Regions from separate parts of the Homo sapiens genome. Here regions 1 and 3 are each linked to region 2. Evidence: promoter capture Hi-C in 16 types of primary human blood cells and fetal thymus (Javierre and others, 2016). All regions are on one chromosome and are shown on one strand. The core of a region is centred on a gene start or on the middle of the fragment in contact, and the rest is flanking DNA. Distances in the headings are between cores, read along the strand shown. Region 1 holds the start of GTSF1 (gametocyte specific factor 1). Region 2 overlaps ITGA5 (integrin subunit alpha 5). Region 3 holds the start of NCKAP1L (NCK associated protein 1 like).

The links. Contacts are between HindIII fragments. The CHiCAGO score rates a contact against its expected background, and 5 or more counts as called.
Region 1: the fragment with the promoter of GTSF1 here is called in contact with a fragment that was not itself captured in region 2 in 1 of 17 cell types (M2 macrophages); the score reaches 6.8 in M2 macrophages.
Region 3: the fragment with the promoter of NCKAP1L here is called in contact with a fragment that was not itself captured in region 2 in 2 of 17 cell types (M2 macrophages and M1 macrophages); the score reaches 7.4 in M2 macrophages.

What each region holds. Positions count from the first base shown.
Region 1 is chr12:54,471,470-54,475,100 of GRCh38, forward strand. It overlaps GTSF1 (gametocyte specific factor 1), which reads right to left and starts at 2,133. Exons shown (of 9, transcript NM_144594.3): 1 at 2,077-2,133. RefSeq lists enhancers at 2,210-2,736, 2,402-2,461. The HindIII fragment of the contact is 3,434 bases long and covers 888-3,631 here.
Region 2 is chr12:54,401,614-54,405,413 of GRCh38, forward strand. ITGA5 (integrin subunit alpha 5) reads right to left here. Exons shown (of 30, transcript NM_002205.5): 12 at 3,553-3,761; 13 at 3,090-3,281; 14 at 2,817-2,862; 15 at 2,532-2,633; 16 at 2,298-2,353; 17 at 2,012-2,166; 18 at 1,574-1,711; 19 at 1,370-1,437; 20 at 567-717; 21 at 388-480; 22 at 163-242; 23 at 1-52. The region is part of intron 1 of GPR84-AS1 (GPR84, ZNF385A, ITGA5 and GTSF1 antisense RNA 1); the gene reads left to right. Among named protein-coding and RNA genes, the nearest start is that of ITGA5, 16 kb to the right of the region's middle. The HindIII fragment of the contact is 8,596 bases long and covers 1-3,800 here.
Region 3 is chr12:54,495,631-54,499,315 of GRCh38, forward strand. NCKAP1L (NCK associated protein 1 like) reads left to right here and starts at 2,122. Exons shown (of 31, transcript NM_005337.5): 1 at 2,122-2,261. The coding sequence starts at 2,160. RefSeq lists enhancers at 2,084-2,143, 2,254-2,313. The HindIII fragment of the contact is 9,210 bases long and covers 1-3,685 here.

The sequences.
Region 1 (3,631 bases), core at 883-3,382, 70 kb after region 2:
ATTCACATTCTTGGAATAAATTCTAGGGCCTACCAAATAGTTAAGAAAAACCAAATATGACTCCTATAGTTCAAATTTAAGCTGTATTTGGGTGATAAGATGTCTACCTTAAGTGCTATTACTTAAGTGCCTGTCACTGTTTAGCATCTATTAGGGTTTGACACTATTAATATAATAGTGATTATAATATAAATATCCATATAATATTTAACATTAGAGGGGGCAAGTCAAGACCACAAGAATACTGTCATTTAAACTTATGCATGAGGGCTGGGCGTGGTCGCTCACACCTGTAATCCTAGCACTCTGGGAGGCTGAGGCAGGAGGATCACTTGAAGCCAGGAGTTTGAGACTAGCCTGGCAACAAAGCAAGACTACGTCTCTACAAAAAACAAAACAACCCCCCCCCAAAAACAAACAAACAAACAAACAAAAAAACAAACTTAGCCAGGCATGGGGGCTCATGCCTGTAGTCCCAGCTACTCAGGAGGCAAAGGCAGGCAGATCACTTAAGTCCAGGAGCTATGAGGTTCGTGCCATTGCACTTGGCCTGGACAATGGAGTGAGATCCTGTCTTTAAAAAAACAAAAAACCCCTTATACATAAACACAGAAATAATGTTCTATTATAAAGCTTTCCTCCTGGGTTCTTAAAAATACAGATAGGCAGGTTACCAGTCTTGTTCCTCTCTAGGACCTGGAAATGCTGGAAGTCTTTGACAGACAGTATACACTCAACCCTTCCAATATGCTTGGAAACACTAGTTCACCATTTTCATGACTTTTCTTAAACATGATCAGGAAGGGCCACACTAACATTGTCCCTTTTTCTAGTGAGGTTTCACCTCCTCTCATCCCAATCTTCAGTGCTAAAGTGGCAATACTTTAAGCTTCTCCAATTAATACTCATTCCCTCTATGCACTAAGGGAAAACCTCTCAATGTTAGGACTCAAGAACTGTCCATATTATGGATAACAGAGTCACAAGAGAACAAATCTGTAACAGGAATGTGAAACATTAAAAGAGAAATGGTTTCACAGTTTGAATCCTTTTCTATTAGAAATCTCTTCTATTGAGCACTGAGACTAAATACATTTATTATTGTGGGAAAAACCTGAATTTATATAAAACCATCCCCATACGAAACTTCTGAAAATTGTCTGTCTCTAGAGCATGCTCTCCTTTGGCCCCTCACACAATTCTACACTCCTCACCACCCCTCCCCCCATTCTGTGACATAAGCAGCGTTAGAACCTATGATAGGAAATACAAGTGATCAGCTAGAACTCTAGTTTTTTTGCTACTGAGCCCATTTGTTAATGACAATCATTAGTGAATTTGTCTTAAAAATATTTTTCATATTTATGTTTGGATCAAGAAATCCCCACCGTCTTTTTGTATATATTTCACTTATACATAGTTACTTCATACTTTTTCATTAAAAATAAGAGTTTTGGAAGGAAGAACCAAGTATGTTTCTTGATTTTAAGTGATGAGCACCAGATTCAGCAGCTTGTAGGAAGCCAACCTATTCTTCCCGGACAAAAGGACGAATTACAGTACACTAGGGGCACTGGAATTCACAGTACCATCACTTAGCCGTGTCTGTTTTAAGTATCTTCCGCATCAAACTGTTAACGGGATTCTTTACCTTTTCCCTACTACTAGATCACGGTGAAATAGACAAGCTACGCCGGAAGCAATCAAGTTTAGGGTATGGATGTAGTCGGCGGCTACTGGTTAAACGCTTAACAGAATTCCGGCCTTAGTAAAAGAATCATTTTTCTTCCTTTAAACAACAACAACAACAACAAAATCACAGTAGACTTAATCAATGAGACTAAATAAGAGAAAGTGGGGGAGGTGGTTAACTTAAAAAAAACATAGAAAAGGCGCCAAGGAGGCCCTCGAGTGGGCAATGCAGCGAAACAGGTTGGTAGCCAAAATAGCTGCATTGAGAGCCCACAAGGCTGAAGGCTACCAGCAGAAAAGCGAAATGAGGATATTAGAAGGTGAAGGTATCCCGGTACGCAAAATAGGAATTGCTTAGAGGCGCCCCGGGGTGCCTTTCCTTACCTCGGTGGACACACACCTTCCTCACAGTCACCTTCCTCCCACGCAAGCCCCAGCAACGGCCACTTCCGGCGCCTAACGTTGGGAGGTGGGGCGAGGGGCCGGCACTTCCTGTGACTGGGAGTCTCGGTTCTGGCTGAGTGTGGGGCAGGGTGGATCAGCTGTGGAGTTCACCTGTGAGCCCCTAGGGTCAGCTCCCTGATGACCCTTTCCCACGAGGATCTCCTCCTTGGGCACCCCATCTTTGGGGCCATCCTCCCCTGGCCCCCAGAACAACAGTGGCCTTGAGAGGGTAGAACTCGCATTTCTTTCCCTGGGTTTTGTGGCGGCCATCTTAGAAAAGGCAGATGAGCACTTAGAAATGGGCACCTGCGATTACCTCAGGAGTTCAAGACCAGCCTGGCCAACATGGTGAAACCTCGTCTCTACTAAAAATACAAAAATTAGCTGGGTGTGGTGGCGGGCGCCTGTAATCCCAGCTACTTGGGAGGCTGAGGCAGGAGAATTGCTTGAACCCGGGAGGCGGAGGCTGCAGTGAGCCGAGATTGCACCACTGCACTCCAGCCTGGGCGGCAGAGTGAGACTCCGTCTCAGGAAAAAAAAAAAAAAAAAAAAAAAAATGGCGCCTGAGGGAATGGGACTGATGGAACTGGTTAGAGGTGGGGAGCTGCCTAGAAAGAAGCCTTGTTTGTGGAAGTTGTCTAGATAGAAAGGTAATTTAGATTTTGAGGGAAGAGAAGAGGAATTATAAAGGAGATACGCAGTGCAGCCACAAAACAATCACCAAGGACAGGAATTTTGTGTCTGGCTGTTCTTGTTTAGAATGTGTTGTAAAATCCCAAAATTCAAAAGGCACTAACTATCTGAGAATGCTTGGTAGGATGATGGTTGTTGCTGCCTGATGAAAGCGAGTTTTAGAGTTGGGGAGAGAGCTCAATGAAGAGTTGGAGAGGACAAGAAGGCCGGAAGGTTACAACTTGTTAAGGGAAAACCAAACGTAGTGTGAGGCTTTGTTCTGGGGAAAAAAAGTGTAAGCTGCAGTTCTTGTCCCCAGAGTGCTTAGAAAAACGACTCCCAAAGTGGATGAAAGGTTTAATAGCAGTACAAAAAATGCCAAAAAAAGTGGTAGAGACTGTAAATTCCTGTAAGGAAAAAAATTAATGGGGCCTGAAATGACCTGGGAAGGCATTATAGAGAAAAGGGACTTGTAGCCTTTGAAGGTTAGACAAAAAAAGGAAGGTGTTGACACTACAAGTAGATCTGGTGGTAATATTTTTCAAAACCAAGAAGTAAAAGATATGACAAAACATTCTGTGCTGTTCAAGATGTAGGAGGCAGTCTGGGTGATTAGTCTGGGCAGTGAAATATTGGGATTTCTACAGCATTTCAGTGGTGTAGAGCCCAAATAGGACTTGAGAGGACTACCCTGACAAAAACTGAATGTAGCTTTAGTAAAAAGGATCAGTGGGGCATTTTCTTTTTCTTCTTTTTTTTTTTTGAGATGGAGTCTCGCTCTGTCGCCCATGCAGGAGAGCAGTGGCATGATCTCGGCTCACTG
Region 2 (3,800 bases), core at 1,207-3,706:
CACGGAGAGCCGAAAGGAAACCACGTCGCTTTGCGAGTTGTTGAGATTCTTGCTGTGGGATGGAGGCAAGACTGAGGTGCTGGAGTGCAGCCAGTGAGAATGGCGCCCAGCCCTCCCTTCCGTCCCCAGCTCAGCCCCAGCCTAGACACACTCACTCCCTACCTGAGGATCTGGAAGTCAAACTGGATGGTTTTCTTAGTGTCCCGGAGATGAGGGACTGTAAACCGAAGGCCACCCCACAGCTGGGGACAGAAAAAGAGGAAAAGAGGGCAGTTAGACTGTGTATTTCACCCTCCCTCCGCACCTCACAGCTGTGCTCTCGGCTGGCTGGTTACCGCCCTCAGGTCTGCTCTCCCTCTGTCCCATCCTCTTTCATCCCAAACTTACACTGGCTCCTGCCTTCATGGGGTTGCCCAGGTCACACACCAGCAGGCGGCTCTGGTTCACGGCAAAGTAGTCACAGCTCAGGCTGGAGAAGTTCTGGAGATGGGGTGGGCACTGGTCAGGTTTTGGTGTCCCCTCTAGAGGGGTATCCTCCCAAATCCCACTCGAGAGTCTCATCTCACCCCTGGGTGTCTGACGAGTCCTGAGTACTCAGCCTCTGGAGGGGCGGTGACCCGAAGCTCAGCCTCATAGGCGCCACCCTCACCCACATTCTGGGCATGGAAAGTGAGGTTCAGGGCATTCTTGTCACCCAGGTACACATGGTTCTGCTCCCTGGAAGGGACACAGAGGGTAAGGGACATTGGTGAATTAATCCTCAAACCAGGACAAAGGACCATTATAAGAGTAGTAATACGAGGCCGGGTGTGGTGGCTCACACCTGTAATCCCAGCACTTTGGGAGGCTGAGGCGGGTGGATCACGAGGTCAGGAGTTCAAGACAAGCCTGGCCAAGATGATGAAACCCTGTCTCTACTAAAAATAATAATAAAAAAATTAGCCCGGCATGGTGGCAGGCACCTGTAATCCCAGCTACTTGGGACGCTGAGGCAGAGAATCGCTTGAACCTGGGAGGCGGAGGTTGCAGTGAGCCGAGATTGCGCCACTGCACTCCAGCCTGGGTGACAAGGGCATGACTCCGTCTCAAAAAAAAAAAAAGAGTAATAATAAAGTAACAATAGACACTGCTTACTGAGTTCTAACTCTATGGCAGGCACTAGGCTAGATTTTTTATGTAGATTATTTCATTTAATCTTTCCAAAAAGTCTGAGAAATAAATGCTACTATTCCCACTATACAGACAAAGGAGTTAAAGCTCAGAGCAGCTCAGCAACTTCCCAAGGCGACACAGCTAGTATGTCCCTAGCTGATTTTTTCAGGTGCCAGGTGCACCTGGAGCTCCCTAGCTTACCGTCAGCCCTACTTACCCAAACACTTCCAGCTGCAGGTCAGGCACACAGATGTTGTCTTCTCCACAGTCCAGCAAGATCTGAGCCTGGGGAGCAGGGCAGCCTTGAGAGGGGAAGTTTAGACCCATTCCTGGGCTGTAGGCTCTTCTCTTTCCATGGCCCTGCCCCCCCAATACCCAGGCCTCTGTCTTCCCAGGTCCCTTCTCCCTGCCCTGTCCTCACCTTGTCCTCTATCCGGCTCTTGCTCTGATAATGTAGGGCTGGCCTGAGGCCGTGGCTGTCCACTGGGGCTTGGGGGTCCAAGGAGAAGTTGAGAGCGATGTGAATCGGCGAGAGTTTGTCTCGAAATTCTGACTCGTTCTGGGGCCAGAGGAGAGAGTTCACGGAGTCAGGGGACTCTGGAGACTTAGTGGCCCTGCTCCTCAGCCTCTCTCATCTCCCTTTGTCTGCTTAGGGCCCAATTCCGACCATCCTCATTGTTTCAGAGGCCCTGGCAGCCTGCTTCCCAGCTCCTCTGACAGAAGGTCTCCCTTTCTCAGCCCCTACAAGAGTCCCAAGCCCTTCACTGGAGTCCCCCAGTCTTTTTCCCTTCAGGAGGTGCCCTCAGTTCTGTGTGGCCACCCTCCCTGGCCAGTCCACACCCCGCCCTCTGGGCCATACCCTGAGGTAGATCTTCATCTCTCTGCAATCCTCTCGAGCCCCATTCTGGATGAGCAGGGTCTGGGTCAGGGTTGCCTGCCTGGAGGCCAGGAACAGTGCCCGCCGTACCCCTCCCTTCTGCTTCTGCCAGTCCAGCTGAAGTTCCACTGTGAAACCTGAAGCCAGGGACATATAAAGGGAAACTGCCTGTCTTTCCTCATCTTTTCAGAGAGAAGAAATGTCCCCAGGTCCCCAGTCCCTTCATTCTCTGTCCTAGGGCCTGAGAGATCCAGGCAGTCTCCCTCACCAATGGAGTCAGCAACGTGTTTTCCAGAAGCATTGAGGCAGAAGCTAAGGTTGATGCTGGAGAGAGACCAAGAAGAAAGCTGGTGAATCCAACTGGAACAGACATCCTATCCTCTACCTATCTCCCAGCCAGACCCAGACTAGGACACCACCATTTTCCCCTTTTTAAGGCAGACTTGGTGCCCCTGCCCACTCCCAGGCTCAGGTCTCTGCAATTTCCTGGGCACCAGCTCACCAGGCCACAGGGTTCCCCTCTAAGCTGCAGCTCCGCTCCTCTGGGTTGAACATGGCGGGGAAGATGGTGAGGGAGGCACTAGCGGACACGATGGGGCGGCCCCTGCCAAGAGTGAATGTGGGGTCAATAGAATTAGGACTCCTCTGTAACCTGGACACAGGAAACTGATGCCCAAGCGCCAGAATGTGTGTCCTCTGCATTGATTTTCCCAACCTCAGCTCTGTTGAGAAATTTCCAGTTCCAGTCCACCCAGGTTGTCCCCTCATCTCCCTTTGGAGCTCATACCTGTATACCACAGCCTTGTCCACACCAAAGGACCCCACAATCAGATCTGTAAGAAGTCAAGAAATCACCTCTTACAGCAAGCCCCAGATCAGGATCCTTTCTTCCTAACCCCTCCTGGTTTCAACGCTCAGGGAGGTTGAAGTGAGAAGACAGCGCCCTCTGTTGGAATTAGCCAGAACTGCACCCAGGAACTTAAGGAAAGGTGCAGAAGAGAGAGTAGGGGTCAGTGACCAGGGAATTTTAAGGTGAAAAGGGGCCTCAGGCACAACTCACCAGGATATCCATTGCCATCCAGGTCTCGGCCTCCTCGAAGGGCAGAGCCAAAGAAGTCTGGGGTGTGGCTGGCTGCCCACAGGGGCTGCAGAACCTGGGAAGGCTTAGAGCCCAGCCCTCCTGGGCCCCCAGGAAATACAAACACTACTCCCTGCTGGGTCTCCCCACCAAAGGGAGCCCCGATGGCCACATCTGGAAGACACAGAACACACACTAGTCAGCAGGCCAGGAATCCATGGGCTCTAATCTCTACTACCAGACCCCAGGACCTAGGATCCTATTTTTTCCCATCTGTCAGTCCCTATATTCTAATCTTCAAATCCCAAGACCCAGACAGTGGGATTTTAACCCCTCGGGAAGTCGTGGAGGTCTGGGTATCTTAGCTGACAGATGCCCTCTCCCCAAATCCCTTCTGACTTGGGCCCCTGCCTCCTCTTTCACTCTCTGAGCCCATGGTACTCACCATTGTAGCCATCCTGGTCCAGGTCCCCCAGGGGGGTCAAGGAGCTGCCAAATCGGCCAAACTCATCATGGCCAGTGAGGGTAAGGGTGGGCGTGGGCTCTATGCCGGCTGGGTGCTGCAGGTAGACGTAGACCCTGCCCACCTCCTGAGGCCGCCCGTCAGGGGTCCGATCCATGAGCAGGGGTGCCCCCACCAGCAAGTCATCCAGCCTGAGGGGAAGGGCAAACCCAGGCATCTCGATACCCTGT
Region 3 (3,685 bases), core at 872-3,371, 94 kb after region 2:
AGGAGCTGGGCCTACAGCCATGTACCACCACACCAGGCTAATTTATTTTATTTTATCTGTAGAGGGGTGGGGGAAGGTCTCACAATGTTGCCTAGGCTGGTCTTGAACTCCTGGCTTCAAGCAATCCTTCTACCTTTGCCTCCCAAAGTGCTGGGATTATAAGCATGAGCCACTTCACCTGGCCCCAACTTCTTAAGTAATAATGCTGATCAGCCTTGTCTCTCTTCTCCCACTCCCTAGAATTTATTGGGACAATGGGAACTCTGGATACGGAAAATGGGAATGATTAAAAACCTGAGAAAAGGAATTGGCAAGGTGGTGGAAATGAAGAGAACTCTTTTTGATTTATAATTTTTCCTAGGACCTTTTGCTTTGTGTCTTGAAAGAAAGTTGAAATAGAGTTGAAAATTTTCTTGAGTTACGGAGTTAAGGCCTCATTGGAATGGCAAGAATATTTTAATGCTAAAATTCATTCAAGTCTCTAAGATTTAAGGGTGATTACTAATTTCCTCTTTTTAATCTTGATTAATTTGGTTCTTCTTCATGGGGCCTATTTCCTAATTTAGTCTTAATAATTCAACAAATAAACCAGCATATTTATTGAGTGACTACTGTGTCCAAGAGGTATTGTTCTAGATCAGTGTTTTTCAGAATGGAATATTTGTACCAAAACCTCCTACAACAGTGCTTATATAAGTACAGACTTCTAGGCCCCACAACAGACTCGCCTACCTACCAATGCTAATCTCAGAGGACAGGGATTGATCTGTTTCTCAAGCATCCATAAATACCATGGTACTAGAGCACTGGTTCTCAAACTTGAGTGTGCATTGGAATCACCTGGAGGGTTTGTTAAAACACAGAGTGCCTGGACCCACCCCAGAATTTTGGATTCAGTGGTCTGGGGCGGGTCCTAAGAATTTGCATCTCTAACAAGTTTCCAGGTGATGCTGATGCTGCTGGATCACATTTTGAGAATTACTATGTACTTCTTGAGAACTACTTTGAGAATTATTATGTACTGTAGAAGTACAATGCACTGTAGTAGAGCATTGTGAGAAATATAAAAAAGTATTAGAGGCCGGGTGTGGTGGCTCATGCCTGTAATTCCAGTACTTTGGGAGGCTGTGGCGGGTAAATCACCTGAGGTCAGGAGTTCGAGAGCAGCCTGGCCAACACGGTGAAACCCCATGTCTACTAAAAATACAAAAATTAGCAAGGCGTGGTGGTGGGCACCTGTAACCACAGCTACTCCAGAGGCTGAGGCTGGAGAATTGCTTGAGCCCAGGAGGTGGAGGTTGTAGTGAGCAGAGATCATGCCATTGCACTCCAGCCTGGGCAACAAGAGTGGAACTCTGTTTCAAAAAAAAAAAAAAAAAGAAAAAAAAGTATTAGGTACAATTCCTGTCATTAAGGAGCTTATGCTGTAGTTGGGGGAGATACAACGTACACTATAAACATATAACAAGGAATATATGTATTTGACAATATAAAATATAATACAATATAATATTTGACATTGATGGGGTCTTTAGGAGAAGATGGGATTTGATCTGGGTACTAAAACATGATGAGGCCAAAGGTTCATAGGCATTCTTGGATATAAAAGAAGGAAAATATAGAGGTGTACAGGGGTGGGGTGGTAGATACTTGTTTATCTAGCTTACAGCTTTTAATTTTTATTTTTTATAGAGATGGGGTCTTGCTATGTTGCCCAGGCTGGTCTGGAACTCCTGAGCTCAATGGATCTTCCCACCTTTTCCTCCCAAAGTGCTGGGATTACAGGTGTGAGCCACCACGCCCAGCTTTGTCTAGGACACTTATGGGGGCATAAGACCAAAAAGGTTGGTGCAGTCTGTGAAGAGCCTTGAAAGCCTGTCCTTCTCCTCAGCTCCACCCACTTCATAGCCTTACCAAAAGTGCTGCACAGCCAGAAAGAGGAAGTCTCCCCTGCTGAGTGTGCAAGAGGAAGCACAAGAAGGCTCTGAGGGCCTGTGAGCCATAATGACTGATTTCACCCATGAGCCAATTGCAGAGGCAACAGAAGACCAGTGCACCAACCAGGCTGGGTCCCTCCGCCAGAGGGTGTCACCATCTAAGCTGAAAGTGTTTGGGGAGATCAGACATTGCTGTCTGGTGCTCCTCTCTCAGTGGCCATCATGTCTTTGACATCTGCTTACCAGCATAAATTAGCAGAGAAGCTCACTATCCTGAATGATCGCGGTCAGGGGGTTCTCATCCGTATGTATAACATCAAGAAGGTAAGCATGAACAATGGGACTAGTACTGATTATTCCAACAATAATAGGGCAGGGAACCCTGAGGCGGCAGGTGCAGCAGTTAGACTCCCACCTTTTTTTCCACTGCTTTTCCACTGACTATAATCTACATAATCACTCAGATTATACAGGCCAGCCAGTTCAGGAAGGCAGAAGTGGAGGCTTCTTTTCAAGGCTTCCCCTTTCTAGATATGATTCTTGCCCCAACGATGGCATCTGCTTTCCTCTGGGGATGGGGGTGAGGGTGGGGATGGGGAAACAACAGTGGTATTCCAAGTGACTTGGATAAAGGTCTGGGGTCCAACCTTCTGGGTTTTATTATTTATTGTTGATCCTCTACACTCTGAAGAGATCTGAAGCTGGGTCTCTGGCAAAAACTTTTCTGTGGAAGTGCTTCCCTAAAAGGAAAAAAAATAGATAATTAGGTATTTAGATTAAAAAGGGTAGGTGTCTTCTGAGCTGCTCCTGGGGTAGTTCATGCTGTGGTGGTTGTGTGTGTGTGTGTGTGTGTGTGTGTGTGTGTGTTTAGAATAGGAACTGAGGAATTGAAAGAAGCTAGTGACAAGAGGTGGGCTAGGGGCTGGGCAAACCATAGGAAGTAAAGAGATAAAGACAGGGGTGTTTATGGGGAGTTCCTGGCATAGAAAATAGGGGACTTTGGGGGAGGGAGCTTTTGTGTTTTTTGTAATAAAACAAATCACCAGGAACACGGTTTCTCTGTCACCATGAATCCTGTAAATGCCCTTTGGGATAAGATACTTACATAGTGAACAAAATTGTGACACTGAATCTTGTACAAAGTCTAACTCCTGAGCAGCTGCTTTTCTTGTTCCTTCCGGCTTCAGTTGAGGGGCGGGGAAACAGCTTCCTCTTTGTGCTGGGGCCAAGCAGGCATTAAACTCTACCCATCAAGACAAAATGCCTAGGTTGTTATTTCGCTCTTAGATACTTGGCTTAATGTCTTGGAATTTTTTCTTGACCTACTCTTATGCTTTTTATTTTTATATTTATTTATTTATTTATTTATTTATTTATTTTCGGAGTCTCGCTCTGTCGCCCAGGCTGGAGTGCAGTGGCACGATCTTGGCTCACTGCAACCTCCGCCTCCCGGGTTCAAGCGATTCTCCTGCCTCAGCCTCCCAAGTACCTGGGACTACAGTTGTGCACCACCATGCCCAGCTAATTTTTGTATTTTTAGTAGAGACGGGGTTTCACCATGTTGGCCAGGCTGGTCTCGAACTTCTGACCTTGTGATCTGCCTGCCTCGGCCTCCCGAAGTGCTGGGATTACAGGTGTGAGCCGCTGCGCCCAGCCTCTCATGCTTTTTAAATTAGTTCCCAGGTTGCCTTTTCCTAAGACAGATTATGAGAATGAATGTTGCAAGAAGAGGTATGTTTCTGAGGAGG